3 separate regions of the Homo sapiens genome follow, and regions 2 and 3 are each linked to region 1. Evidence: promoter capture Hi-C in 16 types of primary human blood cells and fetal thymus (Javierre and others, 2016). All regions are on one chromosome and are shown on one strand. The core of a region is centred on a gene start or on the middle of the fragment in contact, and the rest is flanking DNA. Distances in the headings are between cores, read along the strand shown.

What was found. Contacts are between HindIII fragments. The CHiCAGO score rates a contact against its expected background, and 5 or more counts as called.
Region 2: a fragment that was not itself captured here is called in contact with the fragment with the promoter of TMEM11 in region 1 in 1 of 17 cell types (total B cells); the score reaches 6.1 in total B cells.
Region 3: a contact is called between a fragment that was not itself captured here and the fragment with the promoter of TMEM11 in region 1, in 1 of 17 cell types (total B cells). The highest score is 5.9, in total B cells.

The regions. Positions count from the first base shown.
Region 1 is chr17:21,212,834-21,215,631 of GRCh38, forward strand. It overlaps TMEM11 (transmembrane protein 11), which reads right to left and starts at 1,328. Exons shown (of 2, transcript NM_003876.3): 1 at 1,258-1,328. The coding sequence starts at 1,319. TMEM11-DT (TMEM11 divergent transcript) reads left to right here and starts at 1,492. Exons shown (of 2, transcript NR_184102.1): 1 at 1,492-1,617. RefSeq lists enhancers at 1,230-1,329, 2,100-2,309 and silencers at 1,410-1,549, 1,670-1,939. The HindIII fragment of the contact is 13,322 bases long and covers 389-2,798 here.
Region 2 is chr17:21,060,071-21,062,823 of GRCh38, forward strand. No RefSeq gene overlaps it. Among named protein-coding and RNA genes, the nearest start is that of LINC01563, 14 kb to the right of the region's middle. RefSeq lists an enhancer at 1,913-2,032. The HindIII fragment of the contact is 2,550 bases long and covers 68-2,617 here.
Region 3 is chr17:21,016,862-21,019,561 of GRCh38, forward strand. USP22 (ubiquitin specific peptidase 22) reads right to left here. Exons shown (of 13, transcript NM_015276.2): 4 at 2,223-2,324; 5 at 1,081-1,250. Among named protein-coding and RNA genes, the nearest start is that of USP22, 25 kb to the right of the region's middle. The HindIII fragment of the contact is 5,848 bases long and covers 1-2,700 here.

The sequences.
Region 1 (2,798 bases), core at 78-2,577:
TGAAAACCATTGAGGTAACTTATTTAAATGGTCCAATCTAATACCAGGCGGGAGTTAGAAAAACAAAAGTGTGTTTACCACTGCTTTTCCAAGGAAGAGGAAATGCAGAATGGGCAACGCTGGATAACTGGGCTAAAGAATAAAGTGCAAGCAAGCTAAAGGATTCTATCACAACTGCCAAACAGGAAGAATCTTCCCAGCTGGGAAAGCCATCTGCAAGCAATAGCAATGAACACGGGATGGAATCAGTCACAGAAAAGGAATAATGCAGAGTAGTTGAGAGGAAGATAACTTTTCTGTTAGACAATCCTCACCAAAAAGACGGGGAGGGGGAGAACCAGCAAAACAAAAACTTTTCCTTTTTTGCTGACCGCTGCTATAACAATCAAGCTTTAGCGGACAGTTAATCCAGGTGGCTCCACCAATACATCTTCTCCCAAATTTCTAGTGGCTGAACAGCTTCTAGTGGTTTCCACTAGCTGAAACTGCTTCCCAGATGCAAAAACTGCAACTTGAACATGAAACACGGAAACTACTCCAATCTCATCTTCTAGAAATCAGTTATTCAAATGGAGGTCCCTGTTGGAAGAAACACGCTCCTAGCTCCCTGCCCACACACCATTCATTAGGAAAGGTCACTTTAAAGGACTTCTACGGCAGGAGCGCTTGCACAGAACCATCCAAAAGTCTTCAGAATCTTCCCTCGAGGAAGTGGCCGGCTCTGGGCTCGGAAGAGACACATCTGGCGGGAGCTAAAGCTCCCTAGTAAACGTGCAGATCAAACTACCCCTGCCGCGGCCGGCCTGCTCTGTGAAGGCTTCCCCTTCTTTCTCTCTCCGGGGGCCCTGCCTTCCTCTACACGTCTGGGGCCGCGGCCGAGATGGCCACGCGCGTGCCCAGGCGGGAAGGGTGCTTCAGCAGCCGATCGGCCCGCGGGCAGCTAGGCGGGTCCCTGAGGCCTGCGCTGGGCGCCAGTTCCTTTCAGCACGGCCCGGCCTCGGGCCCCGCCCCGCATGGCCGCTGCCTACCTTACTCAGCCCGGCTAACGCCCCTTCCCCTAAGCTCTCCGCCGAGGCCTTCGACCTCGCTCCCACCCGGATCCCGGATCCTCCGGAACTGGAACCCAGTATGCCCGGCGAGGGTAGGGGGAGCGCGGGGAAACCAGGGAAGGAAGGCTGCTGCAGCCCTCGGAGGCCGCGCTGGGCTCTCCGGCCGCTGAGCCGCCTGCACTGGGGGCAACAAGCCCTTGGATCTCACCTCTCTCGGGCGCTGCCGCCACTGCTGCCCGGGCCAAGACGCCTCCTTCCCCAAGCGGCCATCTTGGAGACACTCTGCTTGCCAACGTCTCGCGCCAAGGCGGCATCGGGAGAGCAGGCGGGCCGACGGGAAGTGTAGTCCGGCCTGCGGTCCGGGGCCGCTCGGCAGGCGGAAGCCAGACCCGGCGGAACTACCGTGCCCACAAGGCAGCGCGCCGGAAGCCCCGCCCCCGGGGTCGCCGGGGCCCGTAGTCCTTCTGCGAGGGCGCGAGGACTCCAGGAGCCGTCCTGGTTCGAGCATTTCTGAAGAAACTGAGTTCCCGGCGTTCGCAGCCTGGGAGTCACAGGCGCCCACCCACCGGTAGGTCCTTGAGTTTCGAGAGCCAGTAGCTGAAGGAGAGAGGAGAGGCAAGTGCCTACAACTCCCAGAGCACTGCGCGGAGGCGCCCGGCCGCGCTGTCCTGGCCGCCAGGCTGCCTCTCCCGCTGGGGGCCGCCGCGCTGTCTGCGGGCTACTAGCGCCGGGCCCCTCCGCGTCGCCACGCCTGCCCTTCACAGCCTTGGCCCATAAGGTCACCGAGGGGCGGGAGGCGCCGCCCGGGCCCTCCTTGGAGGCGGGCGCTGCTCCCGCACCATCCTCCCCCAGTTCTCTTAGACTCCGGGGTACTTTGGAGGCCGAGACAGACACGCTGTCCCTGCTGCCACGGAGGTCCCTGCTTGCAGGTGCAGGCTGTTAGAGGAGAGGGTCTGAAAACAAGAAAGGGGAATAGCTGTATGATAACTGCTTGAAGGCGAGAGGGCCCAGCGACAGCTCTGTTTTAGACAGGGCCTCCAGGCCTCTTAGACTCAGTCCCTGCCACGCACCCACTCCTGCCCTGGCCGCTGCGACGGCATAATCTCGGGATCTTTGAAGGCAGATGCGGGGCTAAACCATCCCACCTGACGGGAACCCTGCCACAGGACCCGACATATCCCTGTCTGGACACTGCTGTAACGAGTCAAAGTCAGGAAGGACTAACTGGAGCCCAGAGATTCCCAGGTGCTGCTGCCTCAGACCTGTGGACTCTTTGGAGGATCTCTTACAGTTTGTGAACTTCTCAGTTCCTCTACTGCTCCCACAGACAACGTTGCTAAACATATTAATTGGTCCCATAAATACTTGAGCAAAACAAATGCGAAAATCTGTCCCGAATTCAGCCTAGAAGAAGCCCAGCCCTGCGCGTCACACTTCTGTGTAGTGGAACCCCCCTTCCCACCCCGCCGCAGGCCACAGCAGGAGGGCCAGCAGACGGAAAGGCGACCCTCTCCTTGTTGAGGATTCCTTTCGATTTCCTTCCAGCTGACATTCTACCACAGTTTTAGCTGCTTGCAATCCTCTCACCGTCCCTCATCACCTACAGTGTGTGATTCAAATTCCTTAGCACAATCAAGAAGCCCCTCCTTAGTTTGGAAGTTGCCTAGCTCTCCAAATTCAACTGCCTACCTTTCCCGTCTGGAACTTGCCAGGCTAGTAAATTCAGAGGGTTTGCAGATACGTAGATGT
Region 2 (2,753 bases), core at 93-2,592, 150 kb before region 1:
GTGGCTAGACCAGGCATACCATAAGCAACTTCCACAGCTGACACTGAGGAACACAGTGGTGCCTGGAAGCTTGGAGACACCAGGAACCACAGAGCCATAAAGGGGGAGGCACAACCCTGGCTCAGGGAGCTCCTAGGTCTGGGTTCCCCAAAGGGCCACAGCTCTTCTCTCCTCTCTTTTTTTCTCCTTGTCACCCATAACATGGCAAGCAAGGGGTGTGTTTCAGCCCTGTTTGTGTTACAGCTCTCTTAGCCCTGCAATTTAGCAGGTCCTGAGTTCTTGTCCTGTGTCCGGGAAGAATGAAGTACTCAGATAAGTGAAGGGTGAGCAAGATGAAGAGGAGCTTTATTGAGCAATGGAACAGCTCAGAGGAGAGCCACGGTGAGTAGCTCCTCTCCGTAGCCAGGGTGTCCCAGTGAGTGTTCAGCCCTTAATAGAGAGGGTAGCTCCTCTCTCCTAGGCAGGTCGTCCCGATGAGTACTTAGCGCTCAGTAGAGAGGGTAGCTCCCCCGCAGAGAAGGTTGTCTTGTCATTTCCCTGCTCTCAGCAGAGAGGAGACCTTAGAGTGGGTAGCTCCTCTCCACAGCTGGCAGTCCCGACATCTCTTCTGGTCTGGCTAAGTCCAGGGTTTTTATGGGCCTCAGAAGGGAGGAAGCACATGCCAATTGGTCCATGGGCAGCCATGGGTAGGCCCAGAAAAAGCACCACAAGTTCCCATTCCAGTCCACAGGACCAGCAGCCCAGCCCCCGGGCTTCAGGCCCTCCCTAGCTTGAAGTTGGGGCTTCACTGGGGACCCGTCGCCTTCCACCCTGGGGCCTGTATGCCTCCTGCTGCCATTCATGAAGCCTAGGCTGTTCATGCCAAAGGGTGCCTGCAGACCAGCACCAAGCTGCCCTCAGCCCACTGTCAGCCTCCTTCCCATGCTCATCAGTGCCCAAGTCCAGAGGGGGCTGAGGTGGCAGGGGGCTGGTATGTCAGTGCTGCCCTGAGTGTGTGCACACCTGGCTGGTCTGTGACAGTGCCCAGGCTCAGCCCCATCCTTGCTTCAAGATTGTAGTGGGTGCCAGGAGCAGGGAGAGGCCAGATAGTGGGAGCAGACACTCCCAGCATGTGGGAGGAAGGGGGGCCATCCTGGTCCCCAAGAGTGCAGAGATGCCTGGGTCCTCAGCCACGGCTTGGGCAGCTGCAGCTGCCCCCAGGAGGGTAGGGCTCCTGCCTGCTTCCAGCCCCCAAGAGTACAGGGAGGCCAGGGTCCCTAGCTGTGACTTGGGCTGCTGCAGCTGTGCTTGGGAGGGTGGGGCTCTTCTGCTTCTGGCTCCTCCCAGTACCATGGAGCATGGCACTGCCCTGGGTCCAGCTCCGCCTAGGAGCCCCTTTCTGCCCGTCCCTCCGTGCTCTACCGTGCTGCTCCCCCACTGGCAGGCAACTCAGCCTGGCCCCATCTTGGTGGCTCCCAGGGTGGCCGGCTTTGGAGGGCTCCCAGGGGTGGGCTCCAAGGACTGCTCACCTCCTCTCTGTGTTTTCCCTGCAGTGGTGGCAGGTGAGGTGCAGGTGGCAGGGCGACCCTGGCCAACCCCGCACAAATGAACCTGATGCTCTCAGGGCTGGCCCTGAAAGCCCCAGCTGTGCCTTTGGCTCGGTGCTCACGGGCTCCCGGGATGTGGTGGGGAGCGAGGTTGAAGCCACAGCAGAGGCTCTGGGCCTGGGAGAGCGTCCTGCCTGGCTATGTGAGGGTGGGGATGATGCCATTGGCTGCCTCTGAGATGGGGCACAGGGGACCCACCACTGCCACTGCTGCTCCTGCAGCCACTCCTGCCTCCTGCCACCACTGCCTGTACCTCCCTGCTGCAGCTGGCATGATGGCAGTGGCCACTCCGGATGTCCCACTGCTGCCATCAACAACACTTTGGGAGGCCAAGGCAGGAGGAGCACTTGAGGTCACGAGTTTGAGACCAGCCTGGGCAACACAACAAGACTTCATCTCTAAAATAAATAAATGAAAAGACAAAGAAACCACCCAAATTCTAGGAGGCCACAGAGTGAGAACCCCTCCAGTTACCTCCACCAGAAAATGGGCCTGGGAAGCATGTTTGCACTGTCTCCTGCGGTCCCTCCCAGGCACGCCCATGTGGTGGATCCTGATCATGTGTTGTACCCTTGAGGAAATGGAGTCTGCGAAAGTGAATTTCTGGCCTTCCCATCCTGAAGATGAGAGACCCTTGATGTGGAACGTTCCCCAAACAGAGGGTGGCTGTTCACTAGGTGCTGGGAGGCCACTGGAGTGTGACAGAGGCCCTGTCGGCAGCCACCAGGAAGCACAACCAGAAACAGAAACTCAGTGCATTTCCCTTAGTGTTGGTGTCAGAGTCTAATTTTCAAAATGTTAAAAACATAATCCTCATAAAAACGAGTAGTGAGCATGGCATGAAAATTGTGTTTAACTCATTAGTGAGGGAACCAGCAGGAAGACATAGACAAGACAAAAGACGATATGAGGAAAAGGGAATTTTATAATCAGTAATGGGAAACGGAATACTGAGATAATATTTGCTCATCAGCTGGAAAATGTTAATGCTCCACCACAATCCTTCTCAAACCAGAGCACACAACAGAAGAAGCTTGGGGTGCCTGGCTGCACCCCGAGTTTGTGATTTTGTAGGTCCAGAGCGGGGCCTGAGAATCCACATTCCCAAGTGCTGCTGCTGGCCCAGCACCACGCTCTGAGAATCATATTCTCCAGGGAAATGCAGCT
Region 3 (2,700 bases), core at 91-2,590, 200 kb before region 1:
GTCGAAACTCATCTATCTATAGGCTAGAAGGTGGGTGTGACTGTAATTTACACCTTAACAAGCCGGAGTCTAAAAACAATCTAACACAAGTGAGCTTATCACTAAAGTCAGTGATACAACCACCCACCAACTTCCCAGCTGCACCCTCCTTTCTCCTATTTGGGCCGTGTCCCCAGCAGTTATGGCACATTGCAGGTACTTTGAGGAAATCGGTTAGGCTCGACCAGAGGCTGGCAATCTGTTTTTGAAAGGCTTGGACAGTAAATAATTTCAGCTTTGCAGGTTGGATAGCCTCTGTCCAACTGCTCAACTCTGTGGCTGTCCCACAAAAGCGACCAGTGACCAGACAGACATGAGTGAGCTGGCGTGGCTGCATCTCTCGCAGAGGTTACGAATGGGAACAGGCCAGGGCTGTTGGCTGGCTCCTGTGCAAGGCACCTGAAGAACAGGCACCAGCCTGCTTATTAGTTGAGGTAACTGAGCTGCTTCAGCTCTGAGAAGCATGTCTAGGTCACGGAGCCGGTGAGGGCTGAGGCGGCAGCCGTGAACGCCTTGCTCTGAACGCTGCCATGCTCTGATGCCGGGGACAGAAGTGGACAGGAACGCCACACGTGCAGCCCACAGGAACAGCCAACGTGCAGCGCGTAGCTCATGAGGACAGAGGCTCTGATGGGGCATGCTTAGAGAGACCTGGCGGTGGAGGAGACTCGCATACCAGGAGGACACAGGAGGGTGACACATGCGTGCCTTTCTGAGCCAGGAAGGTAGACCATGGAGGAAGAGGAAGGGGGAGAATCACCCGTCTTTAGAGACAAATGTCACCCACCAGGGAAGTCTCTGCCACAAGCCTCTCAAAGGGCTTCTCCTTGTTCTGAGTCAGCAGTGCGTCCCCAAAAATCACGCCAGGTCTTCCCTTTTTGGAAAACTGTGTTTTCCATAATAGACATGTATATTAAACATTAACTTACTACAAAAGGTTCTAAATGTATCTTCCTTTATCATGGTCCACCTTAAATTTTTTTTTTGAAGGTGAAAACAAAGTAACAGAAATGTTCCCCTGCAGAAGTCAATGGCGCTCACCTCCTGAAACAGTGAGGACATCTCACAGACCAGACAGGAGCTGGGGCTCTGCATCTCACAGCGGTGCCTGTCAGACAGGAAGAAGTCCCGCAGAAGTGGCGTGTGGGTCAGGGCCTGCACGATGCAGTTCATGAAGCATGTGTTCCCAAGGTTGATCAGCCCACGCAGACCTGGACACAAATCACCAGAGAGCAGGAGTTACCTGTGTGCTGAACCACAGGTGTCGCTGGATCCCAGCGGCTTCCTCTACCTCTACATACTCATTTTCTTTTATTCATTCATTCAAGCCAGAACACGATGAGATATCGCATTCTGCTAGTTTTTATGCCACTTTTACATGAACGGTATTGAAGAATGTCCACCACCATGGACCCCTCCCACTTCAGCCATTGTATGCTTTGACAGAATTACACAAATATAGTTTCTACGACAACAGGCCAGGTCAGAGTGAAGCCTAATGAACAAACAAAACAGGTTTTTAAAAATGTTCTAGGGCCAGGGCAGGGGCTCATACTTGTAACCCAGCACTCTGGGAAGCCAAGGCATGAGGATCACTGGAGCCCAGGAGTTCGAGACCAGCCTGGGCAACATGGTGAGATGTCTCTACGCAAAACACAAAAATTATCCAAACATGGTGGTGTGCACCTGCAATCCCAGCTACTTGGGAGGCTGAGGTGGAAGGATCGCTTGGGCCCAGGAGACAGAGGGTGCAGTGAACTGTGCTCCAGCCTGGGCAACAGAGCAAGACTCTGTCTCAAAAAAGAAAAAGAAAAAGTTTTAAAGGGTATTCCCTCAATTTGTAGAAAATTCAGCGAACACTTACACTCACACACATCATTTCTCTCCCTGAAGATTACTGTGCCCAGCCTCACCCTGGCCAAAATCAACTTGAGTCCCTTTACCCACACAGACGCTGAAGGCTGTGAGGGCAGGGCTGTTGCTACGCATCACTCTGCGCCCCAAGCCCACTGCAGGTCCCTGCAGAGAACAGGTGCTCAAGAGCTGGTTGCTGAGCACATTGATGAGTGACAGTTATGCAGGGCTTCAACAGAATCATGTGGACTTAAGAAACCCACAATTCTGTATTTACTTTTAAACCCTGGAAAGAAGCCTAGCTGAGAGTGACGACACGCTCCACCCACCTATGGTGCAGTTCGAGGTGATCTTTCTCCTTTTCGGGTTGTGCTTCAGCAGTTCAAGCTCCCGTTTGGTTGGTTCCCAAGTTGAAAACTTCTCTCCAACGCCTAAGCAGATGAAGGACAGTTCCAAGCGCTATTAGCTAGATTTTCACATCAAGTGTGTTTACACATAAAAGCTGTGGCGCTATGCTGTCTGTCAGGGTGCATTTCAGTGAGCAACATCCACAGCACCAGGGCTTTCTCAAACTCTACTGTGCTGAGAGGGGCTACACACAACACTTAAAGGAGCTTCTCACAGAGGGTATGAGGATGTGAGCTACGTTTCCTGCAAGAAAAGCAGCACCTCCAGTCAAAACTACCCCAACGCCAATGCCAAAACAGTTGTTTTTCAAATGTCTTCCATCCTTCAGCACAGAGATGGCAGCATCAGCACCAATGGGAACTTACATGAAGGATTCTCCCGCAAACAAGTGAAATTGAA